Linked DNA regions of Homo sapiens: region 1 is linked to region 2. Evidence: promoter capture Hi-C in 16 types of primary human blood cells and fetal thymus (Javierre and others, 2016). All regions are on one chromosome and are shown on one strand. Each heading gives the region's core, a stretch centred on a gene start or on the middle of the fragment in contact. The rest is flanking DNA. Distances are from core to core; before and after follow the strand shown. Region 1 overlaps PVR (PVR cell adhesion molecule). Region 2 holds the start of CEACAM16-AS1 (CEACAM16, CEACAM19 and PVR antisense RNA 1).

The links. The method cuts DNA at HindIII sites, captures the fragments that hold promoters and counts their contacts. A CHiCAGO score of 5 or more calls a contact.
Region 1: a fragment that was not itself captured here is called in contact with the fragment with the promoter of CEACAM16-AS1 in region 2 in 1 of 17 cell types (M0 macrophages); the score reaches 5.9 in M0 macrophages.

The regions. Positions count from the first base shown.
Region 1 is chr19:44,662,193-44,667,518 of GRCh38, reverse strand. PVR (PVR cell adhesion molecule) reads right to left here. Exons shown (of 8, transcript NM_006505.5): 8 at 1,357-5,326. It also overlaps a transcript of CEACAM19 not described here. Among named protein-coding and RNA genes, the nearest start is that of CEACAM19, 6.6 kb to the left of the region's middle. The HindIII fragment of the contact is 240 bases long and covers 3,957-4,196 here.
Region 2 is chr19:44,723,014-44,727,821 of GRCh38, reverse strand. CEACAM16-AS1 (CEACAM16, CEACAM19 and PVR antisense RNA 1) reads left to right here and starts at 2,639. Exons shown (of 2, transcript NR_186815.1): 1 at 2,639-2,985. The HindIII fragment of the contact is 7,565 bases long and covers 1-4,808 here.

The sequences.
Region 1 (5,326 bases), core at 2,827-5,326, 62 kb after region 2:
GTATATATAAATGTATATATGTGTATATATATTCAAAGTAACTAAAATTAAATGCATTAAAAAATGCAGTTCCTCAAACTAGCCACCTTCAAGTGCTCACTAGCCTCAAGTGATCAGTGGCTACTCCATTGGACAGCACAGATGGAGAACGTTTTCATCATCATCTCAGAAACTTCTATTGGGGAGTGAGAGCTGACCTAGGGATCTGAGGCAGGCGGTGCCAGGCATTTCTACCCAGTGAGGTCCATCAGGAAGAGACAGCTAGGTCGGGGTGTGGTGTATCCATAGCACTTTGTGTGTGTCTGAGTGTTCCGGACACACGTCTTCAGCTTGTTGGGGGTGATGGTATCTTCTAGAGGCCCCAGGTTGAGGCAAATCAGGAATCTTGACGTTGAACTGCCTTGAATGATGGAGTGGCCCAGCTATACACTGAATGGCTGTAGAGTCCAGGGCAGCTCTGCTGTGAGCTGGTGAGTCTGGCTGAAAACTTGGTTCTACCACCATATGGCTGGGGTATTTTGTGGCACACGACTTCACCTCTCTGGGCCTCAGCCTCCTCCCCTGGAGAATGGGGATAAGCATCACCACCTCACAGGGATGTTGGGAGAACTGTATGCAAGAGGCCCAGCCAACAAGCAACAAATGCCTGTCATTGTTATTATTATTATTGCTGTTGACCTTGTCTTTGGATTTGCCCCACCTCCCACATTGCCCCCACCCCTCGTGACCCTGCTCAAGAGAAGTGTATTTTCCCTGGAGGGATTTCCAATCCTCCACATCCTCAATGTTCCTTAATGCCTGGAAGATTTCATGCTGGGTTCGTGGGGTCAGAGTACCCTCAGAATCCACCTGACAGATTCTCACTCTGTCGCCCAAGCTGGAGTGCAGTGGCACGATCTCAGCTCACTGCAACCTCCACCTCCCAGGTTCAAGCGATTCTCTTGCCTCAGCCTCCCGAGTAGCTGGGACTATAGGCGCACGCCACCACGCCCGGCTTATTTTTGTATTTCTAGCAGAGACGAGGTTTCACCATGTTGGCCAGGCTGGTCTCGAACTCCTGATCTCAGGTGATCCAATCCACCTCGGCCTCCCAAAGTGTTGGGATTACAGGCGTGAGCCACTGTGCCCGGCCCTTCAATCCTTCCTGCAGTTTTGTAGTTTCCTTGGTCTGTCTCCGGGAGAGAAGTTGTTGCAAACCCAGCAGTTATTTCCAGGCATGGATTAAGCAAAGCCAGCTATTCTGGATTTTCCGGTGGCTGGATTCTACTCTCTCTGTCTCCTTCCCTGCCTCCCTCCATTCTTCCCTCCCTCCCTCTCTCTTTCTTCCTCTCCCTTTCAAACAATCACTTCGATTCCTTTTGCATTATTAAAAGAAGAGTCAAGGTTTATTGCAGAACTTGTAGACAGTACTTAGAATAAAATTCAAACATGTTCCAACCACCCAGACAGAGGTAGTCACTGCTGGTAACAGAGGTCTAGGAGTCCATCCTGTCCTGCAGCCTTCATCTGGGCCTCTCCCCAGCCCCAGAGGGCAGGTCCTGTTTGGTCCAGCCTTCCAGGCGGTCCCATTCTTTTGGCCAGGGATTGGTTGAGCGGTGGGCGGCGCTGGTGAATGAGACCGGAAAAGACGCTGCTGGGTGAGGTTTCTGCTGCTGGATGCGGTTTCTCGTTCCTACAAAGGCTCACCCAGGTAGGGATGGGCAGCTTCTCTGGGTCTGAGTCTGGATGTGATGCCTGGAATGCAGCAGCCATCTTGGCACCAGAGGGTGATGCCAATATGTGGAGGAAAGCAGAACAAACAGCAGAGCAGCAGAACTGGGCCTGCATGCTGTGCCCGGAGTAGAGCCAGGCAATCCAGTTTTTTTTTTTTTTTTTTTTTTTTTGGAGACAGAGTCTCACTCTTGTCACCCAGGCTGGAGTGCAGTAACTCGATCATGGTTTACTCCAGCCTCCACTTCCCGGGTTCAAGGGATTCTCCCACCTCAGCCTTCTGAGTAGCTGGGATTACAAGCATGCACCACCACACCTGGCTAATTTTTTTTGTAGAGACACGGTTTCACTATGGTCTGGTCTTGAACTCCTTACCTCAAGTGATCCACCCGCTGCAGCCTCCCAAAGTGCTGGGATTACAGGCGTGAGCCACTGCGCCCAGCCCGTAATTTTTTGTAAAAAGTTAGATTTCAGTAGCACAGACATTTTCACCCCAAGCAATCTGCAACCCAGAGGCTTCTGGGACCTCACAGCTCCTCAAGGTGAGATCGTATCAACCTGAAAAGATTCCCGACTCCCGTGCAGGAGCAATGCAGAGGGAGGGTGTGGAGTGTTTTAGCCTCCTTATGATCTCCATCATACCCTGCCCCCCGCCAAGTCTCTGATAAGGATAGTTGCGGTTTTCTTAACCTTACTATAAGTTTATACAACACCTATACCAAAATTCTGGGCCCACTCTCCATTCCTGGCTCTGTGGACTCCAAGGATGCCCCCTCCCTCCAGAAAAAGGTCATCGCCTACGTCGCTGGTGGGAACAGAACTCAGCACAACTTCTGTGAGGGTTCATTTGTCAATATCTATCACAATGACAAGAAACATACTCTTTGGCCCAGCAATTCCACCTCCAGGAGTGTGTCCTACACTCAGGTGTTAACATGAGCTAAATGACAGTGTGCATTGGCCAGGCACGGTGGCTTATGCCTATAAATCCCAGTACTTTAGGAGGCCAAGGCGGGAGGATTGTTTGGGCCCAGGAATTTGAGACCAGCCTGGGCAAGATGGCAAGATTCCTTTCTCTAAAATAAAAAAAAAAAAAAGTAAAATAAATGACAGTGTGTAAAGTTATTCACTACAACATTGTAATAGTGAAAGGCTGGAAAGGATACAAATGCCTGTCCTTAGAGGCCTCGTTAAAAAAGCCCTGTACAGCCCTCCCATGGAATATGAGGTGGGTGTAGAACAACTCAGGAGGCATTCTCTGAATTACCAGAAACTGAGCAAAAAAAGTAAGGTTCAGGGTGGGCGCGGTGGCTCACATCTGTAATCCTAGCGCTTTGGGAGGCCAAGGCAGGAGGAGCACTTGAGCCCAGGAGTTCCAGCCCAGCCTAGGCAACATAGCGAGATGCCTATCTCTACAAAAGTTAAAAAGAGATTTAGCCAGGTGGGGTGGCGCCCACCTATAGTCCCAGCTACTCGGGAGGCTGAGATGGAAGGATAGCCCGAGCCCAGCAGGTCGAGGCTGCAATGAGCCATGATCACGCCACTGCACTCCAGCCTGGGCAACAAAGTGAGACTCTTATTTCTAAAATAAATAAATAAATAAACAAATAAATAAATAAATAAAGTGCACTATTCAATGGTTTTTTGGTATAATTAATTTTCAAAAATGGTGGTTAAAAAGAGATAACAGACAATTTGCCATTTTAGCTATTTTTGAGTGTATGATTCAGTGGCATTCATTACATTCACAGTGTTGTGTAAAACTGGATATCCATGTGCAGAAGAATGGAGCTGGACCATTACACTCCAAACACAAATTAGAATGGATCCCTCATGTCTTTTTATCTTCTAATTTTGGGACGTTTATGTACTATCTAATTAAAAAAATTAGCTTAGCATGGTGAGGGGCAGCTGTGGTCACAGCTACTTGGTAGGCTGAGGTGGGAGGATTGCTTGAGCCCCGGAGTTAGAGGCTGCAATGAGCTATGATCGTGCCATTGCACTCCAGCCTGGGTGACAGGAGACACCGTCCCTTAAACATTTTTTTTGGAGAGGAAAAAAAAAAAGACAAGCTGTTCCTAAGGTGCCTGGGAATCCCAGCCCTTATGGCCCTCTTCATTTAGCGTCTTGCTTCCATGCCTCTGGTTCCATCCCACGTGGTGACAGTACACATGAAACCTGTCTGCTCCTTGATTTCCACAAAAGACCCCATTGCACACAGCCGCTGGAGGTACAATAAATAAGCTTTAATGAGATTCTGGGTGCTGGAGACAGACAAGGAGCTTACGTGCCACCAAAGCAACCAATGTTCCTTTATCTCCCCAACTCTGTGGGGTCCCACTGGCCTCCTCACCCTTGAGCCCTTTGCCCCTGCCATCCTGCTGGTTCCTATCTCTTCCCCACACTTCTCTGTTCCCGGCTCTTCCATCTCTGTCCAGAGCAAATCCTCTGTCCTGCTTATTTTCTCTTGCAGAGCAGCTCAAGCTTTGCATTCCCATTTAGCATCTTGGCCCAAGGTCTTCTCTCCCTCAACGTATTTTCCCAAACAGTTTTCTTTATAAGAGGAATTCTGCTGTCTGCCCTCAAGATCATAGACCTTTTTAACTTGTCAGTTGCACTGAGCAGCTGGGCCTCCTGGGTCTTGGGTCGCATCCATCTTGGTCCTATAGGAGCGTGTCCTGAGCAACTGCAGCGCTGCCTCCCCCTGCATCCCTTCCCCCTTGTGTTGGAAATTGCATTTGCTTCTTTTGTGGGTTATTTCCTGCCAGTCCCAGCTTGCTGGCTGCAGATGCTGGCAGAAAGTGGCTGCAGATGCTGGCAGAAAGTGGCTGCAGCTGACAACCTTCTTCAAGTTCACATCTAGTAGTTTTCTCTGCTCCTTGGACACCCCCCAGGCAGCTGCTTGCGGCCTGAATTGCAGCCTCTGGTGACCAGGGTCAGTGGCTGTTTCTTGTAACCACAGAGATCTGACGGATACAGAGATTTAGAAGCTCAAGGCCAGAGGCCAAATTTTTACCAAAATTCTCTGGTGGCCCACACCCTTCTGTGTGGTCTGCTATGCAGTAAAGGCTTAACCTTGCCCAAAGAAAGATCGGGCCCTTTATCCTCAGCTCCTGGGCATTCATCTCTAAGCCCTTGGAATATCCTGCCTGGTAGCTGATCTTGGAGTCTTGGGCCACTCTGGGTGGTTCATGCTAATGATGTGATTTATGGTGGGGGTCTTGGGCCACACGGTATTGGCTTGATGTATGAGGTCAGCCGTGTGGATGGTGAGCTGCTTAATTCAGCACTTTGGGAGGCCAAGGCAGAAGTATCACTTGGAGCCAAGAGTTCAAGACCAGCCTGGGCAACACAGGGAAACCTCGACTTTACAAATAATAAAAAGATTAGCCAGACGTGGTGGCACATACCTGTAGTCATAGCTACTCAGGAGGCTGAGGTGGGAGGATGACTTGGCGTTGAGAAGTCAAGGCTGCAATGAACTGTGATCTCACCACTGTACTCTAGTCTGCCAACAGAGCCAGACCCTGTCTCAAGACAAACAAAAAACTCTGGACACAAAGATCTCGAGTGAGCTGCTCTGGTTGGCAGTATTGGCAGTACTTCTTGCATGTTG
Region 2 (4,808 bases), core at 1,390-3,889:
GGAGAGTGGGAGGATGGGGAGAGGGGAAGGGTGGCAAGGAGATGGCTCAGGATCTTATGAGCCACTGTAGGGACATAGGCTTTTACTCAGAGGGAGATGGGAGCCATGGAGGGTTCTGGGCAGGGGAGGGATAATCTGACTTCATTTTTTATTTTTTTTCGAGATGGAGTCTCGCTCTGTCGCCCAGGCTGGAGTGTAGTGATGCCATCTGGGCTCACTGCAACCTCCGCCTCCCAGGTTCAAGCGATTCTCCTGCCTCAGCCTCCTGAGTAGCTGGAATTACAGGCATGTGCCACCAGGCCCAGCTAATTTTTATATTTTTAAAATAGAGACAGGGTTTCACCACGTTGGTCAGGTACCATGTTGGCCAACTCCTGACCTCAGGTACTCTATCTGCCTCGGCCTCCCAAAGTGCTGGAATTACAGGCATGAGCCACCATGCCCAGGCCAGGTTTTAATTTAATTTAATTTGTTATTATTATTACTGTTTAGAGACAGGGTCTCACTGTGTTGCCCAGGCTGGAGTACAGTGGTGCCATCTTGGCTTACTATAGCCTCGACCTCCTGGGCTCAAGCGATCCTCCCGCCTCAGCCTTCTGATGACTTAGGTGTTAACAGGATCCCTGTGGCTGCATGTGGGGGAAAGACAGGTCCTTGTGGAGGTGCAGCAAGGACCCAGGCAGGGAGTCCCATGAGGAGGTGACTGCATGGTCCGGGCCTTCAGTGATGGTGGCTGGACCAGAGTGGGAACTTTTTTTTTTTTTTGAGACAGAGTCTTGCACTGTCACCCAGGCTGGAGTGCAGTCGCATGATCTTGGCTCACTGCAGCCTCCACCTCCCGGATTCAAGCGATTCTCATGCCTCAGCCTCCTGAGTAGCTGGGATTACAGGCGCATGCCACCACACCCAGCTAAGTTTTGTATTTTTTGTAGAGACGGGTTTTCACCATGTTGCCCAGGCTGGTCTCGAACTCCTGGGCTCAAGTGATCTGCCTGCCTTGGCCTCTCAGAGTGCTGGGATTACAGGCATAAGCCACCTTGCCCAGCCACCATTTTTTTTTTTTTTTTTTGAGGTTGAGTCTCTCTGTGTCGCCCAGGCTGGAGTACAGTGGCGCAATCTCGGCTCACTGCAACCTCTGCCTCTGGGGTTCAATCGGTTCTCGTGACCTCAGGTGATCCACTTACCTCAGCCTCCCAGAGTGCTGGGAAATACAGGTGTAGGCCACCGCGCCCGGCCCTACATCTTTACTTCTTTTGGTCGTGGGGGCTTTTGGAGAGGTACAGGGAACCAGGAGACGGAGGACAGAGAGGACCCAGGGGACCGGGCCTGGCCTGTTTGAGCTGAGACCTGAAGAGCATGGGGAAGTGTTTGAAGGAGGTGAACAAAAGGCTTTATTAGAAAACCAGAAAGGAGGCTGGGCGCGGTGGTGCATACCTGTAGTCCAAGCATTTTGGGAGGCTGAGGCGGGAGGATCGCTTGAGCCCAGGAGTTTAAGACCAGCCTGGGCAATGAGTGAGACCCTATCGCTAAAAAAAAAATTTAAAAATTTACCCAGGTGTGGTGGCATGTGCCTGTAGTCTCAGCTACTCAGGAGACTGAGGTGGGAGGATTGCTTGAGCCCAGGAGGTTGAGGCTGCAGTGAGCTATGATGGCACCACTGCATTCCAGCCTGGGGCCAGAGCAAGACCCTGTCTTAAAAAAAAAAAAAAAAAAAGAAAAAGAAAAGAAAAGAAAGAAAAAGAAAAAAAAATACAAGCAGTGAGTGGTCAGGCTGTGGCTGTGGCACAGCACTTGGCTTTCTCCTGGGGGCACTGGGGAGCCATGGCAGATTCTGACCAGGGGTCAGGGTTGGGTTTCCAAGGACGCCTCTGGGTGTGGTGCGGGCAGGGAGACCAGCTGTGCAGCAAGACACCAGGTGGCCTGGGTTAGGAGGTGGGTCAAAGAGGGAGGGGTGAAGGTTACCAATCATAGATTTAGGAGGCAATTTTCTTGGAAGGAAAGGGTGGGGTGCATGCTGGCTTGCTGGCGCCACTATCAGCCACTGTCCCAAGGTTTTCTTGTGCGTAAACTCATGGAGCGTTCACCACCACCCACTAGGTATCCTCATTGCACAGCTGGGGAAACTGAGGCTGAGAGAGACACACTCGCTGGCCCCAGATCTCACACAGCAGGTTATAGGAGCCAGCATTCAAACTCCTGGAGTCTGACTCCAGAGCTTGGACATTTTCACGCCCCTGACTCCTTAAAGCTGGAGAAGCTGAGGCTCCCAGTTGGGGTGAAGTTCCAGGTTCAAGACCACACAGCCGGGAACTAGAAAGGAAGGATTGAACCCACACCTTACCATGGGACACGGCCCTGCCCATCCCCTCTCCTCCCAGCAGCGTGAGGGCTCGACCTCCGGGGAGTCCCCGTTCTGGGTTGGGCGCCACTCCTCCCTCCCTATCCGCTTCGCGCCCGGAGCTCTCTCCGGACTTTAACCCTGGGCCGCCACTGGTGGCGACGCTGCCGATAAGGGGAGGTGGTTGGTGCAGAGGCCAGCAGGGCAAAATTCCCCTACTCCCGGTGCCAGGGGAGTTACCCAGGTCAGGGGCGGGGGCGGGGGAGGGCAGGGGCAGAGGAGCGGGCGGAGGGGGAGGTGGAGGCATCTGCAGCTGGACAGAGAAGTGGTGCTTTGTTTCTCTGTGCCTCAGTTTCCCTCTTGGTAAAATAGGCATGGTTCCTCCTATGGATGTAAGAAGGACCTAGGAACCTTTGCAAGGGCAGAGGAGTCCGCCCCTCTGGTCTGACTGGGAGACAAGGTGTTCCCCAATCTGATGGTGGGGACAAGGTGGCCCAACACAGTGGGAAAAATAAGGAAACTAAGGAGCTCTCACCAAATCCCATGAGGGAGACAGGACTGTCCAAATCCAATGAAGAAGATAAGAAGCTCCAGTCCTGTGCAGCAAGAACGAGTGTCCAGTCTATATTTCCAGTCTGCCAGGGGAGGTAAGGAGCAACATTCTGATGTGTAAGACAATGTATTTATTTTTGTGAGTCAGAGTCTCGCTCTGTCGCCCAGGCTGGAGTGCAGTGGTGTGATCTTGGCTCACTGCAACCTGTGCCTCCTGGGTTCAAGCGATTCTCCTGCCTCAGCCTCCTGAGTAGCTGGGATTACAGACGCACACCACCACGCCTGGCTAATTTGTTATTTTTAGTAGAGACCGGGTTTCACCGTGTTGGCCAGGTTTGTCTTGAATTTCTGACCTCAGGTGATCCTCCTGCCTCGGCCTCCCAAAGTGCTTGGATTACAGGCGGGAGCCACTGCACCTGGCCAGGAGTGATACTTTGATGTGTGAGACAATGCAGTTCTAATTTGATGGGGGAGATGGGTAGTCCTAGTCTGATGGGGGTGTTGAAGGGCTCCCATGCCTTCTGGGAGAGCTGATGAGCTTCCAAATGAATGATAGAAATGGGGAGCCCCTCAAACTGGTGGGGAGACAAAGAGCCTGCTAGTCTGATGAGGGAGGTAAGAATCTTCCTGTCTGAAGTGGGAGCCAGGGTGCTCCCGTCTGAGATTCCAAGGTGAGGAAAGAGACGAAGAACATACTCACTGCAGCTCAGCCAGCTCCTTCCTGAGCCTGGGAGTCAAATGGCCCCAGGATGCCTGGCCAGGGAGCCAGGACCAAAAGACAGAGACGATTTGCTCTCCTGACCCAGGGGCAGTTCTGCCCAGCTCTGGGCCTGATCTACTTTTGGCAAAAAAAGACCTGGCTGGTGGTGTACGGGCACCACCTAGCGGTTGCCATGGGCACGCCTTCCATCCGGAGCTTGGGGAGAGCAGCTCCTTGGAAGACCAGAGAAGGGCTCCTTGGACTCTCTCCCTGGGACCTGGGTCCAAGTACCAAACTACCCCTGAAACTGGATTCTGTGCATCATTCCATTCACCCTGCATGTGGCAGCTGGGGGAGTCTCTTGGAAGTACAAGCCTACCTCTGTCTGTCCCTTGCTCACAACTCTGCAGTGGCTCCCTGGTGCCCTGGGAGGAAGTCCACACCCGGCCACAAGGCTGGCTTCTTCTGAACAACCCTATGCTTCAGTTGAACAATAAGTAGTTTCTCAAAGGTGTCATATGCAAAACTTACCTTCAGGCCTTCGCACAGGCTGTTCCCTCTGCCAGGAACACCCTTCCCTGCCTCTTCCCCAGCATCTCTCCTACTCCTCCTTCAGGTCTTGGAGTAGATGTCTCCGCCCTCGTGAGCCCCCTGGTCAGGGTCATGGTCTGGTGGGGCTGTCGTGGTCACTGCTGTGTTCCCCTGGGGCCTGACACTGACAATGCACTCCAGGGAATGTTTATGGAATGAATGAGTGAATGAATGAATGAATGAATGAATGCCAAGCTAAAGAGTTTGCCAGGGCAGCTGTAGGAGAGTTTAATCAGGGCCAGGACACGATCGGATTTAGAAGCCCCTAGGCTCCCCCCAGCTTTTTTTTTTTTTGAGAGAGAGGGATGGAATCTGACTTCGTCGCCAGTGCAGTGGCGTGATCTTGGCTCACTGCAATCTCTACCTCCCAAGTTCAGGCAATTCTCGTGCCTCAGCCTGCCAGGTAGCTAGGATTATGGGTGCACGCCACCACGCCTGGCTAATTTTTGTATTTTAATAGAGACAGGGTTTCACCATGTTGGCCAGGCTGGTCTTGAACTCCTGACCTCAGATGATCCGCCCGCCTCGGCCTCCCAGAGTGCTGGGAATACAGGCATGAGCCACTGCGCCTTGCTGGAGCCCCTAGGTTTCCTCTCAACCCTAGGCTTTTGCACATACTCTTCCCTC